Regions from separate parts of the Homo sapiens genome. Here regions 2, 3 and 4 are each linked to region 1. Evidence: promoter capture Hi-C in 16 types of primary human blood cells and fetal thymus (Javierre and others, 2016). All regions are on one chromosome and are shown on one strand. Each heading gives the region's core, a stretch centred on a gene start or on the middle of the fragment in contact. The rest is flanking DNA. Distances are from core to core; before and after follow the strand shown.

Region 1 (2,801 bases), core at 1-2,500:
GGATGGGGACACAGGAGACTCCCACCGCAGGACCTTGGTCCTGGGAGGTAGGGTCACTAGGCCAGACGCCAGAGCTCCAGCCCCCTCCAGCACTGCCAGGAGGGTGGAACGAACTCTCAGCGGCACAGCGGCCCCCTTCCCTGGGCCCACGCCAGGCGAGGCAGGGTCTCACTCCCTGGCTGCTGGCCAGGGGTGAGGAGCCCAGGAGAGGTGTCAAGCCCATCATGCCCAGGGTACTTAGGATGGGGCGGGTGGGTGTTCAGCACCCTGTGGCCCCTCCTCTGTCCTCTCCACCCATCTGCAGGAACTCAGAGACCACCCACAGACCGAGTATCCCCAACTTACTCCTCTGAACCCTTTGTGGTCCCCCCACTGCCACCTTCTGAGTCCCCTCCACCCGGGATTCAGCGGCCACCACCACACAGGCCAGCCCCCTCCCCGGGGCCGGGGCGGGGGGTCCACTACAGGAACCACCCTGCTGGGGCAATCCTGGCTGGACTGGACTCCGCCTGGGAGTTGGGGGCGCGGGCCAGGGGCTGGCCCAGACCGGGAGAAGGTGGAGGGGGGAAAGGCGGGGACCGCGGCCTTCCCAGCCCCCTCTGCTCCCACCCCGGCGCCCGCCACCGCGGGCAGCGCGACTGACCTCATTCGCCAACTGCAGCAGCCTGCGGGCGCCGGCCCGGGACGCCCCCCACCTCCAGAAGAGCCGGTGGCAAGGAGGGAGGGGGTGACAGCTCCCAGCTCCCGGCCCCTCCCGGGCAGGTGGGGGGCGGCCGTCCCTCCCCTCCCCCCGGGCCCGAATTATAATCCCAGTCACGTGCCTCCCCGGGCACCCAAAAGCCGGCCCCAGCTCCTGTAACACCTTGAGAGGGGGAGGGGCGGGGACCCCCCCCCCCGGAGGCGGAGGGGATCGGGGGCGGGGGTGGGGGAGAAGGGGAGAAGGGCCTCGGTGCCCGCCCCCCGCAAAAGTTTCTCCTACCTTGGAGGATCCCCAAGCGCTCCTGCCAGCGGCGCCCCGGCCCCGGCCCGCGGCCAGGACTCAGCCTCCTGCCGCTGCCTCCTTAATTAATCCGGGAGAATGGGGGAAGGAGAGGCAGAGGGAGGCGAGGACGGCGGCGCGGCGAGGGCGGGGAGGGAGGCGCGGGGAGGGGGCGCGGGGGGGGAATCGGCCGGCCGGGGGGCTGGCGCTCGGCGGCCCCCACCCCCGGCGCGGGCTGCGGCGGAGGGCGGGGCGGCGCGGGGAGAGGAGCGGAGAGCGGGAGCGCGGGGAGGCTCTTTGTTCTGTAATCCCAGTAAGATTGCCAGCCATTCGCCCCGGCCCTAATCCCAGCCCCGCGCAACACCACCCTCCATTGGCTGCCATTTACATACGGGATTAGCCCGCCCCGCGCCCCGCGCCCCTGCGCACCCCCCTTGCTACCCAGCGCCCCTGCGTCCCGGGGACCTGGGCACCGCGGTGGGGAGAGCGCGCCGCACCCCTCGGCCCCGGACCTGCGGGGAGGGGCGGTGGCGCCCTCGGTTCTCCCCCACCAGCGCCGGATTAGAAAAGCCTGGGCGCGCCCCCGTCTACCCCCACCGCTCCCCACCACCACTGGGAGAGCAGCCGGGCGCAGGGGGCTGAAGTTGGAGGGTCAAGGTCACCCAGCTGGAACGCGCGGAGGCCCTGAGTGTCCCGGCTGGTCACTCCCGCCTGGCCCGGGTTCTAGTCCTAAGGCTTGGGCCAGGTACCTCTTACTCTTACAGCCTTTGTCCCCCTCCCACCCCTGAGATGTGCAGGAAGGCAGTGACAGGCCGAAAGTCGCAGCAGAGCCAACTGGACTCTTGGTCCCATCTTGTCTGATGGGACCTCCCTCTGATAGGCTTTTACCCCTGTCCCCCCAACCAGCCCCCCCGCCCCCCGCCCGCCCCGCTCCCACCAACCACACACACACCACAGCAGCGCTCCTACTGAATCAGTGCGCACGCCTCCCATCCGGCCCCAAAGCCATAAATCCTAATTCAGCACAAGGAACACAGTCCTTCCCCCACGTGGTGCCCTGATCCCTGAACTAGACCTTGGCTAGACTGGGCATGGCAGGGAGGGAGGGACTCACCCCAGGCAGGCCCCAACCCCAGGGAGCTTCTGGCTTAGAAGGACAGCCAAACATAGATCGAGAATCTCCCAGGTCCTGGCAAAACCCACAAGGTCTCCCCACAGCCTCCTGGCCAAACTGCCTTTGCAAAGATTAGGACAGTGACAGAAGTTTAGCGTGGCTGACTCCATCTTGCTTCCAGCCTCACGCGCTGGCTGTCTTCACTCATTCCGGGGCATAGGCCAAGCTAACCGGGGGAGGAATTTAGTTTATAGTTCAACTTTGAAACAAGGATGATAATAGTTACTCCTTAAACCTAACCTGCTTTTTATACAAGAGACCAAAACCACCTTTGTAAAACTAACGAAAGGCCGTGAGATTAGGATTATGGGAGGGGCCTGGACGCTGCTAAAACCTACGCATCGTTTTTATAATCTGACTGCTCAGGAGTCATGTGGCGAGAGATCACAAGATTTGTGAGTTCCCCACTTCCTCCTATAGATAGCATCTCTATTGTGGAAACTGAGATTGGTCTTTGGAGATGTTTTTCAGACTTTCGCATTCGGGCAACCGACTGACTCACCTGGACCTGTGTGACTCATGACTCAGCCCATCCTGTGGCCCCCACTCAGAGACCGACTCAGTGCATAAGGACCGTTTGCCACACCCCTGTGATTTCATCTCCAACCAATCAGCAGTACCCATTCCCTGGGCCCTTGCCCACCAAAT
Region 2 (2,801 bases), core at 111-2,610, 1.3 Mb before region 1:
ATACATCTATGCCGGGTGCTGTAGCTCATGTCTGTAATCACAGTACTTTGGGAGGCCAAGGTGGGAGGCTTGCTTGAGGCCACGAGTTCGAGACCAGTCTGGGCAACATAGAAAGACTCCATCTCTGCAAAAAAGATAGCCAGGCTTGGTGGCGTGCATCTGTAGTCCCAGCTACTCGAGAGGCCGAGGCAGGAAAATCGCTAGGACCCAGGAGCTCAAGGTCCCAGTGTGTTACGATCTGCACTCCAGCCTGGGCGACAGAGGGAGACTGACTCCAAATGAAACCAAAAAAAAAAAAAAAAACAAACAAAAACAAAAACAAAAACACACCTAAATTGGAGTTTAACGGAAAACTTTTAACTTTCTCCAGCACTCCTGCTAAGCATCACACTTCTCTCTGCTTGCTGGTACCCTGGCTGACGTCTGAGCAGGATGGGACGCGCGGCTCAGAGCCTAAGATAAACCGAAAGTGTCTACAGGGCTTTCTACCAACAAATAAGCTCTGACGGGTTCCTTTGATGAGGTTTGGGAGGCAGGTCCCGGGAGGTGCCCGCGGACTCAGCCCCGAACTCCGGGACCTGGGCTCTGCGATCCTTGCAGAGGGCATGGGCAGGGGCAGAATGGAGAAGTGCAGGACGGGGAAGCCTGGGAGCTGGGTGGGGGCGGCCACCCATTGAGCCGGATCCGGCCAGGCGCCCACGCTGCGCCCCGCCCGCGGGGCTGCGCTTTCCCGGGCTGCGGCCGCAGGGCTGGTCAGTCCGGCGCTCCCGGGTCCCAGGCCCGGAAGGAGCTAACGGGCTATTCGCAGGCGGGCTGGGATTCCCCCGGGGGAGGCCCCACTGCCCGGCCCGCGTCATCCCCGCCCATCTCCACGGGCCGTCGCGGGATAGCCCCCTGCAGGAGCGGGCAGGGTAGTGGGCGGCGCTTGGCGGAGGGCAGCACGCTCGGGGCGCGCGGGGACTGCGGCCGAGGGGAGGAGAGGGCGGTGCGCGGGCGGGGGCGGGGCGAGCGAGGGCATATCAGGGCAGCCCGCCCAGGCCACGCCCCATCCAGGCCTCGCCCCGTCCGCACCCCGCCCCGGCCCTGCCTAGAACGGCGGGACCACGGTGACTGACAGGACTCCAGACCAGTCACCACGCGCCTCGAGGCCCCGAGAGGCTAGTCGGGGCCGAGCCAGCGGAGGGGCTCCTGAAGGGGCGGGGGCGGGCGGGGAAGCCGTTCGGCGAGGGGCGGGGTCTCTGGAAGACTGGCAGAACTCACAGCCAATGGCAGGCGGGAGCCGTCCCGTTAGCGCCGGATCCCCGCGGGTAGGGCGGGGCGGGCGGCGCCGTGGGGATCCCGGGGCAGCCGAGGGCCCCTGACTCGGCTCCTCGCGGCGACATGGATCGGATGGCCAGCTCCATGAAGCAGGTGCCCAACCCACTGCCCAAGGTGCTGAGCCGGCGCGGGGTCGGCGCTGGGCTGGAGGCGGCGGAGCGCGAGAGCTTCGAGCGGACTCAGGTGAGGACGGGGGACCCCGGGGCATCCCTGGGGCACCCTGAGGGACGCGGTGTCCGGGAGGGGCTTTGAAGGGAGTAGGAGTCTTGCAGGCCCCAGTTGAAGACGGGGCGAGGGTGTAGTGAGCGGGGGCATTGACGTGCAGATCTGGGCGATCCCAGGAAGGTCGGGGACCCCAGGGTACCCCAGCTGGCCTGGGGAGAAGGGCAGAGGCGGGCTCGGAGGAGATGGCAGGATGCGTGGCCAAGAGGAGCCTGATCGGCTGGGTACCGGGCAGGAGTCCCAAGATGAGGTGAGAGGGGAAGGAACTGAAAAGGGGCGGAATGGAAGGGTTGCCCCTAAACAAGGGAAGCGCACGGGAGCCACTTGGAGGCTCAAGTGTGGGGGCGGAGAGTGGGGGCGCCGGGCTGGGAATGTGAAGGGTGAGGGGACCTCTCTTCCCCTCCGATCACTTCTTGGTTGCATTGACATCCCTTCCCACCCCCCACCCCTTAGCATCCCCCTTTCTCGATGCCTCTTGCTTGGCTCTGGCCAGCCCCAGCTGTCAGCTCTGAGGCCGGGCGGAAGGGGTCGGAGCAGGGAAAAGGAATGTAGGAAATGCAAAGTGTGGCCACTTTGTGGGAAAATTACTTTGGGGGCTAAAGTGGAGACCATGGTGCCCCTGAGCCCTGACTTGGGGTCTTGGTTTTATCCCCCAAGATGTGCCTGACAGCTAATAGGCAGACTGCCCTATTTGTCCTGCCTGGCCAGGGCTTGGGGCCAAAATTCCTCAGTGTCATCAACAAAAAGCCACAATCCATTTTTTTCTCCGAGTTTTTAATGCCTGGTGTATTGATTGGGCTGAATTAAGCTGACATGTTGATGGTGTTCATCAATTCATTTGTATGTAAAATCCATTTCAAAGAGTACAACGCTTCTTTTAATCCCAGTGCCAATGCTGGAGGGGCAGATTTCTTCTACACTCTTGTGCTCAGAGTGGAACCTTTGAAGATCCATTTGGGTCCCCCTCTCCAGAGGCTGGTCCCCTGATGTGTTATGCGAGGAATACTTCCCCCAAACACAGTTGGAGGGAAAGGGCTTTGGGATTTTAGTTAGAAAAGACAGTGAGAATCTGACTGAAGGTTCTGTATATGGAATCTTTCAAAGAATAGAGCTTTTGGCCGGGCGCGGTACCTCACACCTGTAATCCCAGCACTTTGGGAGGCCGAGGCGGGTGGATCACCTGACGTCAGGAGTTTGAGACCAGCCTGGCCAACATGGTGAAACCCTGTCTCTACTAAAAATACAAAAAATTAGCTGGGCGT
Region 3 (2,801 bases), core at 223-2,722, 1.2 Mb before region 1:
ATGTGTGGGGCTGAGCCCGTGGGCAGGGAGGCACAGGTGGCGCTGGGAGGACAGTGAGAAGCCAGGTTTCAACCATCCTAGGAGGTGAGGGGGCAGGAATGGAGCCCTTGGCAGAGACGGGGAAGGTTCTAGGTTGGCCACTTGGGAACCCCAGCTTCAGTGGGCCTGAGGTGCAGCCAACACCTTCGCCTCCTAAGCATGACTCCGCCTTTCCTTTAGAAATGGGCTCCTCTGGAGGGGTCTGTGCCCTCCCCCAGAGAAGCCCTCCACCCCCACCTCCACCGCGAATACAGTAGGATCTTGAAGAAATCATTGCTTATTGATTGAGACCAAGGAGCAGCCTTCAGCCGGTACCAGGATGTGATTTGGGGGATTCTGATGGGAGGGGGGTTCGCAGGGAGCACCTGGAGGCCCGGAAACTGCAGGTTTTCCCAGGGGTCTTGATTGGCTGTCACTCTGAATGGAGATTTAAGGGTGCCCTTGCCATCTCAATCACCCTGACCCCGAGTTTAGACCAGGGTACTGTCCCTACCGTCCAGCCTTGCAACCCTCAAGGGCCTGTGTGTCAGGCGGGTCTTGGGAGGGGGGAGGCAATCAGGGCTTTCGAGGAAAGGAGCTGTCGTGGGCTGTGTGTGTGTGTGTGTGTGTGTGTGTGTATGTGTGTGTGTGGGGGGGGGGGGGGGGTCTGGGTCTGCCCTTGCCATAGAGATGAGGAGGTACTAGAATTTGAGTTTATCTTGTTCAGAATTATATTACTTTTCCCCAGAGGGTGCCCTTTCGAGGCAACCAAGGGAGGTTGGTTCTCTGCCCGGCCCTGGCCTTTGGCACTCTGTCTTGGCTAGGAGACAATGGGATGGGGGCTGATGACAGGGGAGAGTCCTATTCTATGGCCTGCATCAGTCTCAGACTGACTGAGCATTGCCCCTGGGGTTGGGGGCTGCTTGAGGGGCTTCATGTCTTTATTTGGGTTCCTATCTTTATTTGGAGAGAAATACCTGTTCATGGTTGGGCAGTGAGTGCCCAGAGGTTGGACCAGCATTCCTTGTCTGTCTGCCATGAAATCTCGCTTTCTTTGGGCATGTATTAGAACTCCCTCTCAAAAAAAAAAAAAAAAAAAAAAAAAAATCCTCTCTGCAGCTATGGGGGTGGAGATGTAGAAAACTAAGCAGTAGTTCTTTCCTAGAGGTGTCTGAGCAAGACCAGAAGACTCATCTGTCTGGGCTATGATTAGGAGGTTGAGGGATCTGAAGCTTCGAAACTCTACTTTAGTCCAATGGCCACTAAACCGAATCACCCTTGAGCATCCTCCCAGCCCTGCACCCAGGTTCCCTGCAAAGCTTGGCCTGCAAGGACAAGCTTATAGGACTCAGGGACCTCTGTCCATCCATCCCTCATTAATCAACAGCATTTATTTAATTCTCATAATTTCTATAGCAAGTGCTGGGTAAAGAACACAAAGAAACATCATCGAAGGCCTCCCTCCCTGCTTCTCAAGGCCCTTAGCATGAAAGTGAAGGATCCAGAGAGATACAGGCCGACTCAACAGTTAGCTATCAATACAGGCCTGGATCAGAAGGCCAAAGCTTTGAGGACCATGGGGGTCTGAGAAGGGACTGGAGTGCAGAGTTCAGAAGGAAGACCAAGACCTCAGTTGGCCCTTGGAGGTTGGGTGGGGTAGGCATTGCCTGTTGGGAGAATCGCAGGAAGAGGATGGGCAGAGTCCATTGGGTGAGGCTGAAGACATTTGGCTGGTACAGAGGTTTGAAATCAGGAAACATCGAGATGGTTGTTTGGGGCCAGACCAGCAAGTCCCTGAATGCCAACCAAGGCATTCTGACCCTGGCCCGTAAGCACTGGGAAACCTCTGGAGAATTCTGAGCCCTGGGGAGGTGCATCTATTGCCTCTTTCCTCTTTTAGCTTGGGGTCCAAACAAAAGTGATATTAGATTCTCATTAATCATTGAGCAGCCAAGCGCCCAATCCAGAAACAATCGTCTGCAGCTCTTTGTAAAGAGCACAGACCTGTGCCTGTGTAGCAAGGAGAACCTTACCCACCCTGGGGAATTGGTGTCTGCTTTTCATTCCTGCAAGAGGCCAAAAGTACTTTCTGTTCTGGCCATTAAATTCCCATCTCTGGTTTGAAGTCCTCGCTCTGGGGGCCTTTGGCTGCAGGCTTGACCTCAAACGCAGCCTTTCAGGAACATCCTTGACAGAGTCCAATGTCAGCCTTGGAGGTTTCTCCTGCTTACGCAGAGTGAGGAAAAGCAGATTATAGTTTACCTGATTCTGCGTGATTTTTTTTTTTTTTTTTGAGACAGAGTCTCGCTGTGTCACTCAGGCTGGAGTGCAGTGGTGCAGTCTCGGCTCACTGCACCCTCTGCCTCGCGGGTTCAGGCGATTCTCGTGCCTCAGCTTCCCTAGTAGCTGGGACTACAGGCGCGCGCCCCCAGCACTACCATGCCCAGCTAATTTTTGTATTTTTAGTAGAGACAGAGTTTCACCATGTTGGCCAGGCTGGTCTCAAACTCCTGGGCCCAAGCAATCCACCCACCTCAGCCTCCCAAAGTGCTAGAATTACAGGCGTGAGCCACCACACCTGGCCTCTGCATGATTTTTTTTTTTTTTTTTTTTTTTTTTGAGACAGGGTCTTGTTCTGTTGCCCAGGCTGGAGTGCAGTGGCGCATTCTCAGCTCATTTGCAACGTCCGCCTTCCAGGTTCAAGTGATCCTCCCTACCTCAGCCTCCTGGGTAGCTGGGATTACAGGCGCACACCACTACACCCAGCTAATTTTTGTATTTTT
Region 4 (2,801 bases), core at 122-2,621, 1.1 Mb before region 1:
TGGCCTTGAACGCCTGGCCTCAGCCTCCTAAAGTGCTGAGATCACAGGCATGAGCCACCATGCCTGGCCGAAAAAAAGAAAGTCTTAGCTTCAGAGGTTGGTTGGCCTTAAACTGAGGCAGGGGCTCTCTACCTTCGTGAACAGGTTCAACCTATGCCAGGGGGAAGAAGACAAGAGCCTTGAAGTGGATTAGGGAATGGGTGACTTGAAAGCCCTCTGTAAGCCCACCACACCCAGGAGCAGCCTGTGGCTTTGTAGAGAGGTGCAGGACCATGCTGGCTGATGAATCCCTAGGAATCTGCCTTTGAGTTGCAGAATCCAGGAACTGGAGCGCTTAATCCCCAAAGGCTGAAGGAGAGAGTCTGCCAGGGGGGTGGCTAAGCTTTTAACTCTCTGTGTGCTGGGCCAGAGCAAGGTGGAGTTCCGGGCAAGCAGAGTTGGGACTTTTTTTTTTTTTTTTTTGAGACAGAGTCTTGCTCTGTCGCCTAGGCTGGAGTGCAGTGGCATGATCTCAGCTCACCGCAACCTCCGCCTTCCAGGCTCAAGAGATCCACCTGCCTCAACCTCCCAAGTAGCTGGGACCACAGGTGTGTATCACTACCCCTAGCTAATTTTTGTATTTTTAGTAGAGACGGGGTTTTGCCATGTTGCTCAGGCTGGTTTCAAACTCCTGAGCTCAAGCAATCCTCCTGCCTTGGCCTCCCAAAGTGCTGGAATTACAGGCATGAGCCACCGCGCCCAACTTCGGAGGCCGCACCCAGCCTCAGAGGCTGGACTTCTGTCTGCAGTGGGAAGCTTCTCCTCACCTGGGCTCTTGGTTACTGTGTCACAGCCAGGCAAGCCAGAGCAGCTTGTCCCGAAGCCTTCTAGCCTCAACCCCTAGAGGCGACCCTCCAGGTTAGATAGCCAGAGAAGCCCAGCATTGCTTAGTGTGATATATGAACTGCTGTTTGCTAGAGGGAAAGCAGCTTGCCTTTAGTGGGAAGATGCTTTGGCTGGAATTAGGATGGCGGCTGCAGAACCTCTCTGGGGTAACCCAGAAGTCCAGCCCTGTGCGAGCCTAGCTAGATCTTGCTCTTTTTTTCCCCAGAAAGACACAGGCCCCTTGGTTTCCTGCATCACGTTTGGTACCCTTGCGATGATTCAAAGCAAACCAAGAAAAGCCTTTATTTTAAACGGCCCAGTGGATTTTCTCAGAGGAAATGACTCAGCCCTGACCCTTACCTACGAATAATTTGTGATCAATCTGATAAAAGATATGAGTAAGGGAGAGACAGTTATCATCAGGCAGTGTGCTGTTCAGGACAAGACATGGGTGCAGAGAGGCCAGGCCTGCAGCGGCAGGGTCAGGTCACATGCTGCCGGGAGGCTCCCTGGGAGGAGGGAAGGGGCCCTGCAAGGAGATTCTGACATTCTGCCACTGGAACTCTCGGGCTCACTCTGGGACCTTGAGTGGGGCCTCCATGAGTCTTAGGTCACTTTCTGTTCAATCAAAGGTTGGACAAAGAAGATTTCAGGCCAGGTGTGGTGGCTCATGCCTATAATCCCAGCACTTTGGAAGGTGGAGGCGGATGGATGACCTGAGGTCAGGAGTTCGAGACCAGCCTGGCCAACATGGTAAAACCCCGTCCTACTGAAAAAACAAAAATTAGCCAGGTGTGGTGGCAGGTACCTGTAATCCCAGCTACTTGGGAGGCTGTGGCAGGAGAATCACTTGAACCTGGGAGGCAGAGGTTGCAGTGAGCCGAGATCGTACCACTGTACTCCAGCCTGGGCAACAAGAGCAAAACTCTGTTTCAAAAAGAAAAAGATTTCAAAGATTTAACAGTCCAGCCCTAACATTCTATGAGTCTCTGATTCATAATTTCTAAATGGTGAATAAATGTTGAAAAATCAACTCCATACAGTAGGGTTTGAAATGCCTAATTAAAGATATCCCAAAGCTTTTTTTTTTTTTTTTTTTTTTGAGGCAGGGTCATGCACTGTCACCCAGGCTGGAGTGCAGTGACACAATCAGTTGGAGGCTCACTGCAGCCTCCAACTTTTAGGCTCAAGTGATCCTCCCACCTCAGCCTCCTGAGTAGCTGGGACTATAGGCACATGCCATCATGCCTGGCTAATTTTTTATAGAGATGGGGTCTCACTGTGGCCCAGGCTGGTCTTGAACTCCTAGCTAGGCTCAAGCAGTCCTCCCGCTGGGCCTCCCAAAGTGCTGCAATTACAGGCGTGAGCCACCATGCCCAGCGCATTTATCTATTATCAGGTCTTTTATCAGCTGCCTTAGATACAAACTGAATAAGCATTAGGAAGTCTGACTTCAGAAATGCTGCTTACACATTTATCACAGATGCCTAAATGGTGAACAGGTTGGCCCGCCACCTTGGTATTCACTCCTGGAGGGCTGGGGACTGAGTCTTATTTTTCTTATTTTCTTTTTTTTCTCCCTGAATGGATTTTACAGGCTTTGACACATACTTGGGGCATAAAAATGCTTATATGTGAAAGAATGCCAGAAAGGCATTATTTCTGAATTATTTCAGAAATCGCTCCTACACCAAGGCCAGGCACAGTGGCTCACACCTGTAATCCCAGAACTTTGGGAGGCCAAGGTGGGTGGATCTCTTGAGGCCAGGAGTTCGAGACCAGCCTGAGCATCATGGTGAAACCCCGTCTCTACTAAAAAAAACAAAAATTAGCCGGGCATGGTGGCGGGTGCCTGTGATCCCAGCTACTTGGGAGGCTGAGGCACGAGAATCACTTGAACCTGGGAGGTGGAGGTTGCAGTGAGCCAAGATTGTGCC

Evidence for each region. Contacts are between HindIII fragments. The CHiCAGO score rates a contact against its expected background, and 5 or more counts as called.
Region 2: the fragment with the promoter of HIP1 here is called in contact with the fragment with the promoter of GTF2IRD1 in region 1 in 2 of 17 cell types (total B cells and neutrophils); the score reaches 6.3 in total B cells.
Region 3: a contact is called between a fragment that was not itself captured here and the fragment with the promoter of GTF2IRD1 in region 1, in 1 of 17 cell types (total CD4 T cells). The highest score is 5.7, in total CD4 T cells.
Region 4: a contact is called between a fragment that was not itself captured here and the fragment with the promoter of GTF2IRD1 in region 1, in 1 of 17 cell types (non-activated CD4 T cells). The highest score is 5.0, in non-activated CD4 T cells.

The regions. Positions count from the first base shown.
Region 1 is chr7:74,452,355-74,455,155 of GRCh38, reverse strand. GTF2IRD1 (GTF2I repeat domain containing 1) reads right to left here and starts at 1,250. Exons shown (of 27, transcript NM_005685.4): 1 at 980-1,250. RefSeq lists silencers at 628-697, 1,200-1,549 and an enhancer at 2,435-2,801. The HindIII fragment of the contact is 10,217 bases long and covers 1-2,801 here.
Region 2 is chr7:75,737,500-75,740,300 of GRCh38, reverse strand. HIP1 (huntingtin interacting protein 1) reads left to right here and starts at 1,360. Exons shown (of 31, transcript NM_005338.7): 1 at 1,360-1,500. The coding sequence starts at 1,381. RefSeq lists a silencer at 583-1,572. The HindIII fragment of the contact is 9,380 bases long and covers 1-2,801 here.
Region 3 is chr7:75,635,861-75,638,661 of GRCh38, reverse strand. All of the region lies in intron 1 of HIP1 (huntingtin interacting protein 1), which reads left to right. Among named protein-coding and RNA genes, the nearest start is that of HIP1, 100 kb to the left of the region's middle. The HindIII fragment of the contact is 227 bases long and covers 1,359-1,585 here.
Region 4 is chr7:75,595,401-75,598,201 of GRCh38, reverse strand. All of the region lies in intron 2 of HIP1 (huntingtin interacting protein 1), which reads left to right. Among named protein-coding and RNA genes, the nearest start is that of SPDYE5, 100 kb to the right of the region's middle. RefSeq lists enhancers at 1,270-1,409, 2,324-2,801. The HindIII fragment of the contact is 1,148 bases long and covers 798-1,945 here.